Regions from separate parts of the Homo sapiens genome. Here region 2 is linked to region 1. Evidence: promoter capture Hi-C in human tissues and cell types (Jung and others, 2019). All regions are on one chromosome and are shown on one strand. The core of a region is centred on a gene start or on the middle of the fragment in contact, and the rest is flanking DNA. Distances in the headings are between cores, read along the strand shown. Region 1 holds the start of KRT17 (keratin 17). Region 2 overlaps LOC105371777 (a long non-coding RNA gene).

Region 1 (3,081 bases), core at 125-2,624:
GGAGTGGTCCATGGCATTGATGAGTGAGAGGGCATGGCAGTGACGCAGCCAGCCCAGGAAACCAGACCGGCTCTGCCCCAGCTCGGGGTGTGTGTGGGGCGGGGTGGCCGCTGTGCGTGTACGCGTAGGGGGCATCCTGTTTGCTTTGGTGGCTTGGCAGCCACTGGGCTATTGAGGAATGTCTCTCGGCTGCTGGCGGGGCCGTCTGGGCCTGTCTGGGAAGTGGAAGCCATCGGCAGTCTGAAACATGACCACATTCCACCCAGCGGGCCTGGCGGGACCCTGGGACCCAGGGCCGGGCTTGGGGTGGTGGGCAGGGCAGGGTGGGGCTGTGGGGTGGGGCACATGGCCCACCTGAGGAGCCACATCTTGGGGAGCCTGGAGTGGGAAGGGGGCTGGCTGGGGTCTCTGTAAGAGCCTCTTCTTGGGCAATGTCCTTTAGGTTTCCTGTGGGCTGAGACCTGAGATAAATACCCGTCACCTGACCCTGAGGTCTCTTGGGGTACAGAAGGGTGAGGGGAGTGGAAGGGGGCATCCCCCTCTCAGTTGGCACAGCCCACCATTTCCCCATCCTATAGCTGAGCCCCTGTTTGCCCACCCCAGCCTGGAGTGTAAACCTGGGGAAAGGTTTACACGAAGAGACTGGGTTAGCAAGGATTTCTAGGGATGGGGCAGGGTCAGAAGCTGACTGGATGGAACTGTAGCCCCTAGAGTGCATTCCTGGGTGTCAGGCTCTGCAGAAGGGGCCAGTGTGGACACGGCACCCCTCTGGAGCCCCAATTTCTTTATCTGTGATGTGGGTTGGTCTCCGAGGCTTGATGGCATTTCTATGCTGTGAGGTGGGCCTGGTGGGTTTGGGCTCAGTTTCCAAGGCAGGATAGGCTCTCGGTCTCCTCTTTCTCTTCAGCACCCAGCCCCGGGGCCAGCACCGTGGGTGGAGCAGTGTGGGGTGAAAGACAGCAACTTTGGCGGGGGGGTCAGCTGACACTGCAACCCATTTCCCCACCAGACAGGGTTGAGGCGGGCCAGGCTGGGGTGGTGGCTGCCTGGGAGGGCCTGGGGACGGTGACGTCCTGCCTTCTCCTCTTCTCCGTATTAGGTCATGGGAAAGCATAGCTGGAGGGCCCGCCTGAATCACAGGTGACGGGCCTGAGACCAGAGGCACGCACACGCACGGCACTCAGCACGAGGATTTGGAGAAATGAGGCAAATTCCTGATGATGGGCGGGGAGGGGGCCCCCAGCCACCTGGGAGCTGGCAGGTGGCCAGTGGTGATGAAAGCCCAGGGGAATGGAAACAGAGGAGCAAGCCTGTTGTAATCGCTACGCCCACTTGGTGGCCTATAAAGGAAGCGGGCGAACCCCGGCAGCCCTACACAACTTGGGGCCCCTCTCCTCTCCAGCCCTTCTCCTGTGTGCCTGCCTCCTGCCGCCGCCACCATGACCACCTCCATCCGCCAGTTCACCTCCTCCAGCTCCATCAAGGGCTCCTCCGGCCTGGGGGGCGGCTCGTCCCGCACCTCCTGCCGGCTGTCTGGCGGCCTGGGTGCCGGCTCCTGCAGGCTGGGATCTGCTGGCGGCCTGGGCAGCACCCTCGGGGGTAGCAGCTACTCCAGCTGCTACAGCTTTGGCTCTGGTGGTGGCTATGGCAGCAGCTTTGGGGGTGTTGATGGGCTGCTGGCTGGAGGTGAGAAGGCCACCATGCAGAACCTCAATGACCGCCTGGCCTCCTACCTGGACAAGGTGCGTGCCCTGGAGGAGGCCAACACTGAGCTGGAGGTGAAGATCCGTGACTGGTACCAGAGGCAGGCCCCGGGGCCCGCCCGTGACTACAGCCAGTACTACAGGACAATTGAGGAGCTGCAGAACAAGGTAGGGCCTGCTGGTGGGAGGGGTCTCCGGGGGGCATGACTTCTTCCCCCCAACTCCTGCCTTGGCCAAAGGCCTGGAGTCCAGCCATAGGGTCTCAGGGAGCCAAGGGTGGTTTGGCTGTGGCTTAGCTTCTGGGAACCTGCCTTGGGGCCCCTGTGTGGCTCACATCCCCCTTTTCTGGGGACAGCAAGCTGAGTCAGGAACAAAGAGGCCTTGTGGAGCCCCTTGGAGCCTCAGTTTCTCCCTCGTGGAGCTCCGCCACCTGGAGAGGTTGTAGGATGAGGCAGGAGGATGCAGATGGAGGGCTGGGCCCGTGGGCTGCTGGATGTGTGGTGTCTTGCTCCTTTGGAGCAGGGGTCAACAGGAGGGGGTTTTGGGTGATGTGGAGTGGGGGTGTCTGAGTGAGCTCCTGATAGCACCTGCTGCAGGAGGAGGCAGAAAGGAGGGGGCGGGACCTCAGTGTGGGGAAGGCCTCTGATGTGCCTTATTTGGGGATTTTTCTGGCTTCTCCTTTCCTCCTGCTGTCCCTTAAGACGGGCTCAGCAAACCCCAGGGGGCGGGGCTGCTGGCTGGCGCCCAGGGTTAGGGATTAGGAGGGGTCCTGACTTTTGATTTGGAACCACTCTTTAATGAGGGCTCCTTTAGCCTCCTTTTGGGGGAGCCTGTCAGGGGCACCCTCTAGCTGACTGTAAAACGAGGGGGTTGCCCACATCCCCTCCCTTGTTCTAGAATTCTGGGACAGCTTCTGCCCTGGGGACATTTTCCCATTCTTTTCTGGTTGCCTCATACTCCCAGCCAGCTGTCTCTTCTCCTTTAAGGCCGAGCCTGCCATGGGGGTCTGGTGGGGTACTGAGTATCGGGGGAAGAAGAGGCACCTTTCAGCCCTTCAGACTCCTGTTTGCCCCTCCTCTGCCAATAATACAGCACGGGGCAAGGGAGGGGCTGGGCGAGAAGAGAGGCCCTGAGGCAGGAAGATCTGCTCAGAACCCTGGTGTGGGCTCAGCCACCCCCATCCAATGACCTGACTACTCTCCCTTCTCCTCAGATCCTCACAGCCACCGTGGACAATGCCAACATCCTGCTACAGATTGACAATGCCCGTCTGGCTGCTGATGACTTCCGCACCAAGTGAGTCCTAGCTGTGGCCTTGGGCAGCCTGGGCCAGCTGGCGGAGGATCTCAGGGTACCCCTCCTGACCCCAGGATTCCTT
Region 2 (2,963 bases), core at 316-2,815, 720 kb after region 1:
AATGGCGTGAACCCGGGAGGTGGAGCTTGCAGTGAGCCAAGATTGCACCACTGCACTCCAGCCTGGGGGACAAGAGTGAGACTCTGCCTCAAAAAAAAAAAAAAAAAGAAAAGAAAAGAAAAGAAAACTAGGGATGGAAAGAAAGGAATGAAAGAGGGAAGGAAGGAAAACAGGAAAGGAAAGGAAAGAAAAAAGAAAAGAAAAGGGAAGGGAGACAGAGAGGGAGGGGGGAAGGAAGAATAAAGAAAGAGAGAGAGAGAAAGAAAGAAAGAGAAAGGCAAGCAGGGAGGGAGGGAGGGAGGGAGGAAGGAAGGAAGGAAGGAAGGAAGGAAGGAAGGAAGGAAGGAAGGAAGGAAAGGAGGGAGGGAGGGAAGGAGCTCTACAGCCACACAGCATATCCATCCGTTACAGGAGCAAATAAGAAAGTCAATCTTCCAGCAGAGGAAGCCAGAGCTAAATAAACACTTTAAATGTCATGAAATAAGACTTCAGAGCCCAAATGTTCCATTTTCTATTCAATAATACTATTTCCTTAAAGGTCTTGGTAACAGAGTTACCCCACGTATCTTGACCCCATATCCTGTGTTCATTCCCAGAACAAAGCTGACATGAATGATTCTTGTATGATCATTTACCAACAGAAACATGCAATCAAATTTCTTATTTTAATTAAGAAACATGGCACAATACATTTTAATTGGTAGTAGACACCATAAAAACAAGAAGGATTAAAAACACAAAGAAATGTCTTCCTCTTTAAAACAGATAATTTGGACTCCTCCTGTTCATCCATGCATTCACTTAATAACCATGGACAGCGTGCTTTCTATGTTAGATGCTGTATCCCCTAACACCCCTTTATAGCTCTTCATTGAGGTCTAGATATTTTGGCCCATGCTTCGGATGCAGCATTTCATGGGACACCCTGATGGATCTCCTGTGCTGTGCTTCCTTCTGTGGCTGTGGGTGCCACGCTGGAGCAATGCTTAGGAGGAGCGGAGTATTTCCAGGTGAGCCCCTACACTCACTGCACCTCCCATGCTCACTCTTCAACACACATTTGTTGGTAAAGGTCCAGTCCTCAAGCTTCAAGGTTTAGAAATTTTATTTTACCAAGGTTGGTCAGGAGCTAAGGGAATGGAGCCAGCTAAACCCAAGGAACAAGAAGCCCCCGTTCATTTACAATGGAAGTTGTCTTGCTGTTGTTTTGCCATTATACCATGAACCTGTCTTGGAATCAATGTGCCTGCACACTGAATTAGGTATCAGAAAATTGGTGATCATGGAATAAGGTAAAGGATTGAAAGGCATTTTTCTTAGGAACGCTTTTATACTGTTGGTGGGAGTGTAAATTAGTTCAACCATTGTGGAAGACAGTGTGGCGATTCCTCAAAGATCTACAACCAGAAATACCATTTGACTCAGCAATCCCATTACTAGGTATATACTCAAAGGATTATAAATCATTCTGCTATAAAGACATATGCAGACATATGTTTATTGCAGCACTGTTCACAATAACAAAGACTTGGAACCAACCCAATTGCCCATCAATGATAGACCAGATAAAGAAAATGTGGCACAGATACACAATGGAATACTATGCCGTCATAAAAAAGGATGAGTTCATGTCCTTTGCAGGGACATAGATGATGCTGGAAAGCATCATTCTCAGCAAACTAACACAAGGACAGAAAACCAGACACCGTGTGTTCTCTCTCATAAGTTGGGGTTGAACAGTGAGAACACATGGACACGGGGGGTGGGAGGCGCATCACATACTGGGGACTGTCGGGGCGTGGAGGGCTGTGGGAGGAGAGCATTAGGACAAATATCTAATGTAGATGACAGGCTGATGCGTGCAGCAAACCACCATGGCGCATCAATACCTATGTAACAAACCTGGATGTTCTGCACCTGTACCCCAGAACTTAAAGTATAATATAAAAAATAGAAAGACATTTTTCTATGGAATGTGAAGGCTACTTCAGTACCAAATAACAGTCTCTTGTGATGAGAGCACCATGTCTGCCAGGCGGCATCTGTTGCACAGCACTCTGCTGTGTCTTCCAGCCTCTGCCTCGTTCCCACTTCAGCCGGGCGTTCCTGCTTACATCTGTGGCAAGCTCTCAGCTAGCTTCTCCTCCCAGACTGAGAATCCTCCTAAACTGCACCTCTTGCCATTTACCCTCTAGGGGACAATAGACTTCTTCATCTTGTACCTGGGTGATACCAGGCTCTCAGAATTCCTAGGGATCAGAGGGGTGGGTAGAAGGACAGGTGGATCAGGTAGATGCATGAAGAGAGGCAACGCCAGTTACTCAGACTCTGCCTGGGCTACCAGAGTCCTGAGCTTCTTGCCCCCATTCGGGAGGTGTTAGGGGTCTCACTCCGAATCATTACTAGTTTGTTCTTTAGCTTTTATTTCCATTTCTTCCGTGTGTGTGTGTGTGTGTGTGTGTGTGTGCTGCCACTGATACTACTTTTCCCTCTCAGCGATTAAAAGAAAAAAAGATACATTTGAAAAAGTGGTGTATTATCTATTCTGTTAATATGATGTCAGTATTTATGAGGTGTGGTCTTTGTGCCTCTTTTTAAAGATATAAGGAATTACTCCATCGCCAAAGTTCGGTGGCTTCTCATATCACAGAGTAAAAGGCAGGTTCCTTGCTGGATGATGGCATCCACATCCCTCACCATTCACCTCCGAATTGCTGAGGTCCTTTCCACCACCCTCCCTTCCATCCCTGAGCACCCCCACATCCCCACTGCTCCACCCACACTCACACCTAAACTGCTATAGACCTTTGCACCTGAGCTGCCATATGGCTCTTTTCTTCCTGCTGTCATTCAAATACCACTCTCACAGGGAGGCCCATTCTCATCTCTCTACACACAAGGGCAACTTTCCCAGCCCTCCCCACCCTTCCTTTTTCTCCTCTGACCTACTCCCTTCACCTCTA

The links. The method cuts DNA at HindIII sites, captures the fragments that hold promoters and counts their contacts. A contact is called where the count stands out against the background at its distance.
Region 2: a fragment that was not itself captured here is called in contact with the fragment with the promoter of KRT17 in region 1 in 1 of the 25 tissues and cell types used here (dorsolateral prefrontal cortex).

What each region holds. Positions count from the first base shown.
Region 1 is chr17:41,622,868-41,625,948 of GRCh38, reverse strand. KRT17 (keratin 17) reads left to right here and starts at 1,374. Exons shown (of 8, transcript NM_000422.3): 1 at 1,374-1,871; 2 at 2,917-2,999. The coding sequence starts at 1,440. The HindIII fragment of the contact is 8,196 bases long and covers 1-3,081 here.
Region 2 is chr17:40,904,676-40,907,638 of GRCh38, reverse strand. The region is part of intron 1 of LOC105371777 (a long non-coding RNA gene); the gene reads right to left. Among named protein-coding and RNA genes, the nearest start is that of KRT20, 21 kb to the right of the region's middle. The HindIII fragment of the contact is 3,141 bases long and covers 1-2,963 here.